Linked DNA regions of Homo sapiens: region 2 is linked to region 1. Evidence: promoter capture Hi-C in human tissues and cell types (Jung and others, 2019). All regions are on one chromosome and are shown on one strand. The core of a region is centred on a gene start or on the middle of the fragment in contact, and the rest is flanking DNA. Distances in the headings are between cores, read along the strand shown. Region 1 holds the start of SCN9A (sodium voltage-gated channel alpha subunit 9). Region 2 overlaps SCN9A (sodium voltage-gated channel alpha subunit 9).

Evidence for each region. Contacts are between HindIII fragments. The study calls those that stand out against the background at their distance.
Region 2: a contact is called between a fragment that was not itself captured here and the fragment with the promoter of SCN9A in region 1, in 1 of the 25 tissues and cell types used here (H1 embryonic stem cells).

The regions. Positions count from the first base shown.
Region 1 is chr2:166,371,700-166,378,354 of GRCh38, forward strand. It overlaps SCN9A (sodium voltage-gated channel alpha subunit 9), which reads right to left and starts at 4,245. Exons shown (of 27, transcript NM_001365536.1): 1 at 3,998-4,245. The HindIII fragment of the contact is 4,548 bases long and covers 3,471-6,655 here.
Region 2 is chr2:166,234,885-166,241,539 of GRCh38, forward strand. It overlaps SCN9A (sodium voltage-gated channel alpha subunit 9), which reads right to left. Exons shown (of 27, transcript NM_001365536.1): 20 at 3,210-3,383. All of the region lies in intron 4 of SCN1A-AS1 (SCN1A and SCN9A antisense RNA 1), which reads left to right. Among named protein-coding and RNA genes, the nearest start is that of SCN1A, 110 kb to the left of the region's middle. The HindIII fragment of the contact is 3,333 bases long and covers 2,483-5,815 here.

The DNA of each region.
Region 1 (6,655 bases), core at 2,995-5,494:
GTTCTAAAGGAAGATGTCATAATACTTCTGTAAAGAATAAATTAGCTAATTTGTGATGTGTAATATGAAGGACCATCTTCAATTAGTACACAGATGCCCTCCAATACAACATCCACAATATGTCCTCTTCAGAGCAAATTTTTAAAAATCCCTGCTCACAATTAGTGAAATAATTTAGTCCTTCAAGATGTAATGTGGTAACCAAATTATTTACCAAAAATCTGTGGCTGGCCATTTGCTACATAAAAAAATCATTAATCAGTTTGTCACCTAATTGAAAGCTAAATTTTCAACCAAATGTTAATAGCAAAACTAGTTGTTTGTTTAATATCTTTAAGCATAGTCTGCAAAAATAAAGGGGGGAGGCAAATCACCATACAAAGTGTGTGTGTGTGTGTGTGTGAGTGTGAGTGTGTGTGTGGTAAAATTCTAGTATGAAAATGACACAATCATTTATGAGCATGAAGTTTGCAGTCCTTACTTCCACTCTAATAACAGTGATGGGTCTTCATGGATAAGCCCACATTGCCTCTCTGAACCTTCCTTAGAGAATGCTTCAAATATTTGGATAATGTGCCCTTTGTACCTGGGGCAAACATCAATTTAGACCGTGTGGAAACCTAACTTATGGCCTCCGCCTCATCTGACTACATTTCTATCAACTGAGCTCACATAAGCATCTATGTTTATTTTAAAAGAATATTTTAAATTCATAGTCAGTGACTATTGACTGGCCCTCAAATTTCTGTTAGATGATACAGATTTAAACCTAACAAGGTTATCATTTTAGATTTGGAGTCACTTATAACCATATTAGTTTATGCAATCCAATTTTTTCTTAAAATATATTTTAATACATTTGTGGTCACTGCCTTTCTAAGAATGCATTACAAATTACTTACCTTTAAGTACATTATCACCTACACTGATAAAAGAGAGAATACATCTCAGGATATTTTAATTTTACCTCCTCAATATCATACCATGATATTGTAAAAATACTAAATGCTTGACAAATAAAAAATAGAATCACAAAATTCATGTTTCCAGGGTTAATATGCTTTATTCTGGAAGAATCCATATTTTTGTATTTTATTATTTATATAAATATCTACGAACCCCCTACTACTTGATGCCAGGCACTATTCTGGAAGCTAAGTCAACAATGAAGACATAGTCTGGGTTCCCTTGGAGTATTTGGTATGCAAATTCACAAAATACCTGCATGCTGTAACAAGCAGTATGAAAGAAACAAGGTTCCAACATCAAGACCAACACGGGACAACCTACTTTTAACAAGATGATCAAAAATGATCTTTCCAAAACAAAAAAACCTCGAGTTGAGATTTAAAGTTTAAGAAGGAGTAAGCACGCATAGAGTTCAGGCATTGGGAACAGCATTTGAAAAGGCCTTAAAGAGTGCTATTGTTTCATGTGTTTTAGCCACGACCTGGGCAGGAGCACCTTAATGAGAAGAGAATAGGTTCTGGTGAGGTTGGAGAGAAGGGACAGAACAGAGAGTAAACCATATGCTGAGGAAAGGCATTTACTGTTGTTGCTAATTGGTCTCTGTGTTGCCATGTTTATTTCTTCTTCTCCTCTTCTTCTTCCTCTTTTTTTTTTTTTTTAAATGCAGTTGTGAGCCAATGTTTGTTAGGGGAGACAGGATGGTATTGCTTTGTATAGAGAATGAATTGCAGGGGAGAAAATTACAGAAGTGGAGAGATTGATATGGAGGCTGTGGCAGGATTCCAAGTAAATTATGATGATGACCTGAACTAATTTGGTGGCCGTGTAGATACAGAAAAGAGGGTGAATGAGAGGCATCTGAGACGTATGATGAAATAGAAATAAGTTTGGGAGATAAGATTGATAGATCTACTTACAGGCTGGAAAGGGCTGAAATGGAGTAATAAGGAAGAGAGCAATCAAAGGTGATTTCAATACTTGGATGGTGAAGGCATTTATTCAGATAATGAAGATGGGAGGAAAGAATCTGAGACAGAGTTTTAGGGAAAGTCATAAATTATTATCATTATGACATCTAGAATGTTCCATTTACATCAATAAACTTTAAGCTCTTTTACAAGATCATGACTTGTCTTAGAAAAGTACCATATAAATCCTTCTAGCACTTCACACTCTTTTGCATAACTAATAGGAATAGAAATTGGATAAAAAATAGATTTTATTATTCATGTAAAATGAAAAATTCTACTTTTTTCCTTGCCACAGAGAAAGTGGGTTGATTATATTAAATAAATAGAACCCTACTGATTGCTCTTCTGAATTTATTTATTTGTTTATCTATTTTGCTTCTGAAACTCAGCACAGCAACAGGTAGTAAAAACATAGAAGCATTACCACAGAAGGGCTCCCATGATTATATGCAGGCCCTAGGGGAAAGGAGGCCCAAGATGCTTTTGGCAGAGAGCCAGACCTGACTCATCTTTCTTCTGTAGAAGCATCAGGTACTCTGTGAGCCTAGCCCTGCACCATAGGAATCAAGGCATATCATATATCCAGTCACTGTAAAAACACATCACTGAGTCCCACAACTGCACAGTGGCTTACTTAAGGAAACCTCCTTTTAAACCTCTACAAAATTTTAAAAAACTTGTCTTAAGCCAAACTATCAGTTGCCTAAATAGAGGGCACATTCTTCTTTACATCAAATACCATATTCTGTCTAGAGTTTTGTTGTTGATAAGCTAGTCTAACAATCATGAAAATTTGCGACACAGGGATCAGATAAGACTAGCTTTCAAACTAATCAATAATTTTTAAAAAATCTCACCATAATTATAAGAAAAAATTATAAACTTTTTTAAATAGTGGAAAAAATCTGAAGAATTTGCAATAAAATGAACAGTTTAATAATTGGATTTGGTTTGCAGTTTATATAAAATAGGTTTATATTGATGTTAAAGCAAAAATTATAAAATATATTTAAATAACAAGGAAAGAAAGAGAAAGAAAATCTTTATCTTGTCTACAGGGAAGAAGAAATAGAAAAGAATAATAAATATGTTTCTGAAAAGAACTGAACTTCCCAACACTGACTTCCTATTCAGTAACTGACAAGCTATCACTTCCTTGAAAGCTTACTTTGATTTGGCTTTTATCTTACTGACACTAGCTTCTTAAAAACCCCCCTAAGTTTCTCATGTAAATTGCTCTTAACATCAGAGTAGATATAATCTATGAACGCTCCAACTTAAAAAAAAAAAACTAAAATAATGAGTGAAATGTTTACTATAATCACAAAAACTGGCATTAATGTTTCTAGTTTCTTGTTCTGATTTTTGTCTTGAATATAAGGCACGAAAATATCCATTTTTTCCTAAAAGTAAATGAGTTTCCCAAGTTGAATTCGATAAAAAGTTAAAAGGATTCTGCATCTTTTCTGAATTTCACTATAAAGTGCTTATTCGAAAAAATAAATAAATAATCTGCGCTGAGAAATAGGGGCAGAGCTGTCCTGTCAATTATTTGTGTTTGTGTGCTCTTAAGGGGTGCGGGGTTCTTTTCTGTCCCCACAGGTTGTATCTGCTAAGCTGGTTCTGCACGCTCAGCTTTGCAGATGGGAAATACAGCACATGCTTTTTGCTCGTAAAAAATGTGAGCTGCCCCTTGAATTGAAGTCCATCTAACAACTCTGCTAGCGTAAACAGAAATAAAAGACAGTAAACCACCAGGCATTGCTACCCTTCCTTTCCACAGTTTCAGAACCTGGCAGCAAACCCACAGAGTCAAAACCGCACAGGAGCTGCCCAGCTATCGAAATAACTACGCTTCCAGCCCTTCTTCCTCCCATTGCTGGAACCACCCGGTCAAGCTTCTCCCCTCTCTTCTTTCCAGGTGGCGTAATACAGGGTTCCAGAACCGAGATGTGAAAATAGACACAGGTGGGTGTGGCGGTTGAGGCGAGCACGGGCGAAAGACCGAGGGCTTCTCCTCCCCTCCCCACAGAAGCAGCAAAAGAAAAGGCACTTACTTGCAACCTAGCCCGCCGATCATCCCCACCCAGTGCACCTGCAGAATCTGGCTCCAGGAGAGGGCGCGGGCCTCTCCTTCCCCGGCGCTCTCTCAGGGCTGCTTCTTTTTCTCTGGGCTCCTGTTGCTCAGGGGACGCCTGCCGCTAGCAGCCACTGGCACCCAGGCTAGCCCAGCCTCAGCCGAGCTGGCGGAATTGGAAAGCCGACAGCCGCCGCTGGAGCGCTGGCGACCGCCTGCAAGCAGACTGCGCCCCTCCTGCCAGGGCGCGCCCGTGGAGGTAGCAGCCCCGCCTCCCCGAGGGCAGCTGCGCCGCTTTGCCTCCTCCACTCCTCCCAGCGCGCCCGGGTCCCCACCCCTTGCTCCCTCCCTCCCTCCCTCTCTCCACTCCTGCGGGCGGCGCAGGGCGGGGACCCAGCTAGGGGCGCGGTGGTGGCGACGCTGTAGCCTCTGCACCATGCGCTAATAGAAGGCGGAGGAGGGGGTTGCACGACCTGCCATCCACGGCCACCCATTGGGTGGGGCGTGTGTGTGTTTGAGTGTGTGTGTGTGTGTGTCCAGCAGCCAGAAGAGCCCTTCCCTTATCTCACCCCCGCCCCCATCATCCCTTTCCTCCCTTCCTGCTCAGCAGAATCGGCTAATGTTTCCGAGAAGTCACTTTGTGTGGCTTGGTGGGGAGCTGGAGAAAAACTCCGGAGCAGAGGAGGTGGGGACCAATGGCAAAGCCCTGAGTCTGGGGCAGTGGCTGGGGAGCCAGACAACACCGCCAGGCCAGCGCCTCCCCGACCTTGGGCTCTGAAGAGTCTAGGCTGGGAATTGGTTTCTTCCGTAGGGCTTTGCTCACAACCGCGAGTGGGGCGGTGACGCTCAAGACCGGTATCTAGGCTATGTTTTCTGTTTTCTTTATATATATGTATATATAAAATCAATTGAATTGCAGCGTCTTCCAGGCAAGCAAATAATACATTTTCTTTCGAAGATGCAGTGAAGAATCAGAGGAGGTCCTAGGTGGGGAAAGAAACGTGGGGAAAAGGCTGCTTTTCCAGACCTGGGACCCGATTATCTGAATATGCCATCAGTCATATGGGTTCTGAATTTCAGAGCTGGTAGGAGCGACTGTGAAAATAAATTTTTTAAAAATTCATTTTGTGTGGAGTGTGTGCGTGCGCTTTCCTACAGCAGCCTGGGAGGAAGAACAATGGAAACAGGGTTGAATTATCTTTCTCAAAGAGAAACAGGAAATTTCCACCAAGGGAAGAAATCAAAGGATGGCCATAGGGCAGGGTGCCTCTCAAAAGGGCAGACCACTTTGCAGGATAAACACTAGTGACGGGCACTTTTATTATTTGCTTCCACACCTTCTATCATGGAAATGATGCTTAGAGATAACCGGAAGGAAATCAAATCCCAGGGTCTACTTTTCCCTGCTGCTTTCTTTGCTTCTGAGATTTGTCCTGGGGCTTTGGACCTTACATTCTTGACTTGTAAGATGTGCTATTGAAGGAAGGAAACTTCAGTGACTGAGACTGTGCAATGAAGGTGAACTAGCTCACTTGTGATAATTCTCAGTGCCATATCCTGGACAAATCGCCTTCTCTTCCCTGATTGGTGGTAGATATAGGAAGAAGAGTTCAACTGCAATAGGAATAATGGTCTTTTTTATTAGATGCAAGCAATGCCACATTCTTTTATTTTTAAAATTTTATTTTTAGAGCAATTTTAGGTTCACAGCAAAACTGAAGGGAGGGTACAGAGATTTCCCACATAACCGCTACTCCCACACAAGAATAGCCTCCCCCATTATCAACATTCCCCACCAGAATGAAACATTTGTTAAAATTAATGAACTTACTTTGAGGTTTCATTATCTCCCAAGGTCTGTAGTTCACATTTAGGGTTAGCTCATGGTGTTGTCCATTCTATGGGGTTAGGCAAATATATAATGACATGTATCCACCATTACAGTATCTTACAGAGTAATTTCAGTTCTCTCCTGAATTCTCTGTGTTCCACTTATTCATCTCCCATTTCAACCCCTGGCAAGTACTGATCATTTTACTGTCTTTATAGTTTTGCCTTCTCCAGGATATCCTATAGTTGCAATAATACAGAATATAGCCCTTTCAGATTGACTCCTTTCACTTAGCAATATGCTTTTAGTTTTCCTCCATGGCTTTTCATAGCTTGATAGCTCATTTCTTTACAGTGCTGAATAATATTCCATTGACTGGTGGTACCATAGTTTATTCATTCACCTACTGAAGGACATCTTGTTTGCTTCCAAGTTTTAGCAATTATGCGTAAAGCCTCTATAAACATCTTTGTGAAGGTTACTGTGTGGACATGTTTTCAAGTCCTTTGGGTGAACATCAAGGAGCACAATTGCTGGATCATATGGTGAGAGTATGTTTAGTTTTTAAAGAAACTGCTACACTGTCCTCAAAGTGGCTGGAGCATTTTGCATTCCCACCAGCAATACATGAGAGTTCCTGTTGCCTCACATCCTTGGCCAGAACTTGATATCATCAGTGTTCTGGATTTTGGTTATTCCAATACATATGTGGTGGTATCTCATGCCCATTGTTGATACCATAAGTGTTATTTGATTTGCATTTCCCCTGTGATATATGATGTGGATCACCTTTTTATATGCTTATTT
Region 2 (6,655 bases), core at 2,899-5,398, 140 kb before region 1:
ATGAATGGAATATAGAGTAAGGGCTTAATGGGTTATCATGGGAGTGAGTTAGATATCACAAGAGTGGGTTTATTATAAAACCCAGTTTGGCTCTCAGTGAACACCCCTCGCCATGTGATGCCATGAGCTGCCTTGGGACTCTCTGGTGTGCCCACCAGCAAGAAAGTTCCCACCAGATGTGGACCCTTCACCTTAGACTTCCCAGCTTCCAGAACTTTAAGAAATAAATTTCTTTATTGAATACTTTAACCAGTCTCAGGTATTCAGTTACAGCAATAAAAGGTAGACTAAGACATGTCTGTTATAATTGATACAGCCCCTAAAATACTAATAGGTCTGTTCTCCAAGCCACTGTTAAGTGAGTTTTATGACACGGAATATATGCATATTATTAAGACTATGGTATAGTTTGTAACTGAGAATATATATGCATATATATTCACATCTTTCTATAAACACACACGTATATATACAAATATACGCCTGTACTGAAGAACACTGTTTAATCAAGTAAGTTTCAAATAACCCAGAAGCCTGCAGAAATCAGACAAGTCCATTCTCTGAGTAGCAAATAATATAAGTAGTTCTGAAATCTGAATATACAACAGAATCATCTGTAGGGCTTGTTACAATGATTTGCCACATCCAACCCCAGAGTTTCTGATTCAGTATGTCTTGGGGTTGGGGGCAGAATTTGCATCTCTTATGAGTTCTCACCTACATGTGCCAACGTTTTCAGTTTTGAGACCATCCTTCAAGAACAACTGCTGTAGATAAGTTTCTATACTTTTCAGAAAAAAAAAAAATCAGCCACTCCCCCAAATCTGTGTCCCAAAATTTGCATCTCTGTCAGCAAGAATATTGTGTGGAGCTTTACTCTCTGTGCTTTGCATTATATTTGTTCGTTTCCAAAATATTAAATAATATTTCAAATTGGAGTTGTTTATCTCCCTGATTTCTGCACATTACATACCCCTGAACAGGAGGTTATACTCACTGAGAATCATCACTTTAAATTTTCAAATAAAACAATTTCCATTATTAAACAGCCATATCTCTTAATTTAAAATAAGTTCAATTTTACTTGTAAACCTTCATTTCTTACACTGAATGATGAAAATGAGTGTATTTGTGATAATATTTTAAAGATTTTAAAATATCTAAAATATTGTATAATTTTTTAAGAGAGAGACCCCGTCATATTTACAGTTTAAGAGAAAAGAAAATCTACATTCCTTCTATAATTTCTTCTTATTTGGGGCAGCCTTTCTTCAAAACTACTATATTACAAAAATACCCATTTTATCATTTTTCATTTTTTAGGCAGTAACTAGATAACTTGATATATGAATGATTAATTGAAAAATAGCAAGAAATCATTACTATATCCGAAGTTAGAATTCTCATAGAGGAAACCTAAGATAACACATATAAGGTGTAATATATAGCTATGTTAAAAATTTTTTCACATTACATATTATAGAAAAAAGTTATTGTTTTTAACATTTAATATGTTGTGTGATTAAGAAAACGAAAATTATTATTATTTTTTTTGAGATGGAGTCTCACCCTGTCGCCCAAGCTGGAGTGCAGTGGCACGATCTCGACTCACTGAAACCTCTGCCTACCGGGTTCAAGCGATTCTTCTGCCTCAGCCTCCTGAGTAGCTGGGATTACAGGCACCTGCCACCATGTCTGGCTAATTTTTTGTATTTTTTAGTAGAGACGGGGTTTCACCATGTTGGCCAGGCTGGTCTCAAACTCCTGACCTCAGGTGATCCACCTGCCTCGGACTCTCAAAGTGCTGGGATTACAGGCGTGAGCTACCGCGCCTGGCCAGAAGCCAAAAGTTTATGAAGCTTTGAATAACAGTTGAGAAATTGAACTTTTGAGTAAATATGACTAATTTGGTAACATTTTGCAGTCAGATTTTACTATGTATGATCATGCTTACTTGTGATTTTCTAATCCACATATGATGCTGTATGAATTCAACTTTTCTTAAAAGCTCGATAATGCAAACCCTTGGTTAAATTTTAAAGCACTTATTGGCATATACAAATTTGCGTGTTGACCTCTAATTATGTCAGGCATCATATGGAAAACAAATCTCTAAAAACTATGACTGATTATAGGATGTTTCTTCCCTAAACACAAAGGTTAGGTTTCTGAAAATCTAGAAGAATTAGTAAAAGATAAAGAACATATCATTCTGAGAAAAATAAGACTGGGAGATTGAGGTTATAAAATAATGTAAGAAAGCCATTTTAATTAATACAAAATATGTCATATATATTATTAAGTTATATTATTAAAATATAAAATAATTAGAGTACATTCAATGAAATGATAATAATGGGTATTGTACCGTTAGTTTCTATTTGAGAGTCCTTGATCTCACCGACTATTTTAAGATTTCTTCTCTATCTCAATCAGAAGCCTGTAAAAATATTTCTACTTCGTTAAAATAATATGTAAACTAAAGAATTATTATGTATTTTCCATCATCCAAGTATTCAACAGTTCTTTGAATTTATTATCTAAAATTATTACATTAATAATAATGCCTACTCCTCTGCCCCACTGCCATTCTGGAGATGAAGGGCAAGTCGCATATTTGAGATAGAGACAATTGTGTCTCATTTTGGTTTTTCCTATAATTGGGTCTGAGATAGATATTTTAAAATTTCATGACTTCTCTCTCCCCAAATACAAAGTTAACTTTGTATTTGTATAATGATTTTTAGAAAAATTTTAGCTCACATATCAGCCAACTTGATGTGCCCCTCATCCTCTCTTATCTTCCAATTTTACATTATGAATAATCATCATTTCCTCTCTTTAATCTGTGTCTCTGCCCTTTTATCATCTCCTACTTCTAAATTTTGTTTTATTCTTAACAAGAATGACATTCAAATCATATTTTTTAAAAAATCACATCTCCTTTGCAGAAAACATAAAAAACTCAATTATAAATGTTACAATGTCACAGAAATAATTTACATTTGTTGAACGATTTCTGTTCTAATATTCCTCACAGATATATTTCCACTGGCTGTGTTAATATTTCTAAAAGAATAAACCTATAGCCTGAAAATATATGAAGCTTAACAAAATTAAAATATGATAATATGCAATAGTGGTGAAGGTTTTTTCACAACACACAGTAAGAATAAATCCTCTTTTAAAATGTACTCAAAAGTACCTACATCAACAATTAGGAAATCCAGCCAACACCAGGCATTGGTGAAATATGTTTTATAACCATATGCTATCCATTTTAGAAGCATTTCCAGAATGAAGATGTAAGTGAAGATCTTGTCTGCATACTCCAGGATAATCTTAATGGTCTTTTTCCTTTCAATATAAATATCTTCAAAAGCCTGTGGAAATAATATTCAAGTTTCAATCATGCACAACTTAAGCTTCATGATTCATTTAAAAAAAACAGGAAAAATACAATTCTAATGCTAAGACTGCTGAAACATAATATTGACATGGGCCAGCTGACATTTTTTCTGGTTTACAGTTATCATATAACAGTTAGTTCTAGCCTTCTCACCAGTGCTGCTGCTGGTCTTCAGAGGTCAAGAGAAAGTGCAAAAGAATGAAATTACTTATAATCCACAAAAAGACTCATGATCTCTGACACCTGATCATTTCCACCTCCATCTGATTCCTCCTCTTTCTCCATTAAAATTGGATAAGTCCTAGCAATTTAAGACATGATCCCATGGCCAGCCACTGTTATAAACTTTTCACATCCTACACTCCCCTTTTTCCCCACCAGTAGGATGTGGAGCCTGTCTTTCAGCTCTCAAATGCTTGTGCATCCCAGTGCCTAGTACCATGTTAATAACAGCAGCAGGAAAGGAAAGATTTGCTAAATGAATGACTGCAGTAGCTTAATAGGCCTATAGAACACAGAGGGTGCTTTTTCCTTTGACTATTCATCCATATATTATCCTTCAAAGCTTCAGCTCTAAAAATCACTGTTCTATTCTCTCCATTAATGCGGTGCTTCCTATGCTTTCCAAGAAATTTTAGTAAGTGACACACAACATTATGTGACAACATTAGGTGAGCTCTATCTAATGTAGGGCTTACGCTTTACTGTTACTAATTTTGGTTATCACTCATTTACTCCTATTTTGTGTATGCTCTTCTGTCTGAGGAGCCACAACACAGTGAAAGGACAGGGTGACTTTGACTTTAGACTTCAGCCACATGTCCCTTGACAAAGAATTTGAAAGGACTGAAAAATTGGGCTCATTGTTGCAGTGAGCCAAGATCACGCCACTGCACTCCAGCCTGGGCAACAGAGCAAGACTCTGTCTCAAAAAAAAAAAAAAAAAAAAGGCTCATTGAGACACTGAAAATGATTGCTGATCTCAACAGGTCTAAAGTGTTAGAACTTTCTCTTTCAGATCGAAACACTATTAACCCTGTTGGATAAAATGAAAGTCAAAGACCTGTATCCTTCGTGGTTAATATTATATTTATTACCTGTCTACAGTCATGAACTTGTGCCATTCAGATTCTTCTTATTCTACGTTCTGCTTTCAATACTCTAAAATTATCCTTAGCAGTTTTGGGAAACTGTTGGTATCAATATTGAAGAAAAGAGACAAGTTGGGGCAGAAAGACTGAATGGACCTACTAAGATGCAAAAAGAAGGTCCCAGCAGTTGGCAGAGGTTCTGAAATTCAATGGAATTGAAGTGCAGAGGGAGGCTTCTAGCCCTCAGGATTTTCCTCCCCTCCACTCCACCCCCAAATTCTGGAGGAATCAGGCAAGCCATCTAAACCGAAACTATGGCAATGACTCAGTCCTTGAAATACAAAGACAAGGAAGGGGCTTAGTCACAAGGAAAACGAAGCCTGTTTCTAGAACTGGTGTACAGGGTCAGAGCAGAGCCGCAGGAAGTCTTGATGATGAGAACCTCTCTCTGACTGGTCCCAGAGCAGGAATTAGAATTCAGCCCACAGGGGTTCTAGCTTCCAGAACCAATTTTGTGGATGTAGGAGCAAGGAGGCAAGAATGACCTTATGTGAGCTCTATCTGATTTAGGACTTAACGCTTTACTGTTACTAAATTCAGTTACCACTCATTTATTTCTGTTTTGTGTATACTCTTCTTTCTGAGGAGCCACAACACAGTGAAAAGATATGGTGACTTTGATTTTAGATGTCAATTCAGTGATAGCTCTGTCATTTACTAGCTTTGGGACATTAAGCAACTTTTAAAACTGTACCCAGCTTCATCATTGGTAAAATAAGCAAAATATCATAATCTCACAGGGTTGTTTGAAAATTAAATGAGAAAATCTAAAAGAAGATTCTGAAACACAATAAGTATAAGCTAAATGAGAGCTATTACTTCTTTTTAACTTTTATTTTAGGTTTGAGGGTACATGTGAAGGTTTGTTACATAGGTAAACACGTGTCATGGGGGTTTGCTATACTTTTAAAAAATCTAGTTTAATTGGCAACCTGTCTAAGTACAAACACCAGCTTCTTGAAATATCTTTCCCTTTTCTTCCTCATATGATTTATTTAAAATACACTTTTGAGAATGCCCTCCCCAAATGTCTTCCTCTGTTTTAGACATTTTGAACAAGGAATTACTCCAAACTTTAATTTTTTTGTAATCTCCTCTCTGAAATTCTCAGTCACATATGTGAGTCAGCATGGGATAAACCTCCTTAGTTACTAGGAATACATTGCATGGTAGACACTATCATGATTTCTACTTGGATGACTCCAGGTAAGGAAAATAGAGCTTTTCTGATCACATTTTCTGTTTCTGAGAGTTGAGACTTGATAGGAAAGGAAAGCCACAGTGGGTCCCTGCAGGTTGTTGGGGAGTGTGCCAAGAATGCCAGGCTCTGCCTGCTCCTTACCTAGGACATTCCTCAGGGTTGTGTTTGCAGTGAGCAACCTTGAGACATGAGGTAGGGTCTCTGGGACAAAGAGCAGGGTTGCTTATGTTGCTTGGTATAAAAGGATGCATTCCCTAAGCTCAGTGTTCCTCAGCTGTGACATCAATCCACTATATGTGTACACACTCATTCAGGCTCATATAATGCCCCCATGAGACCTGGGTAAAGGGGGAACCAACAGAAACATGTTGAAACTCATGCTACTTTCCACACATAAGTAACAAAGTCCTTTATCTCTGACCCAAGCACCTCATATCTTCTGCCAGCATCCATGAAACAGTATCAGATCAACCTATTAGCATATAAGTACAGTAAAATCAAAGTCCAAACTCATGAAGACTGTCTATGAGGCAAGTTACAAAGTTCTTGAGTATTCTATTTTTAGTATAATGAAACTTCCAGTGGTATATCTAGCTAGATCTGGGCTCCTAATGGCTTCTAATGGCTCATCTCTGTCAGCGTCAGCAGGAAAAATGACAATTAAGAAAAAGGTTCAGGTAGCTTGTAATTCTACTAGATCTCTTTCAACTCTCATGGAAGCTGCTTGTATGTGTACAAGAATGAGAAACTTGTCCTACTTTTATCCTAAAACTACCATCTGTTTTCCCTTTTTATAACACACAAGATGCTTCACAAGCTGACCTTGCTTTCTCATAGTATCTCTGGCCACCTGTACTTGTTCTTCTTCCCACCACACTTGCAGTTCAGCAGTTT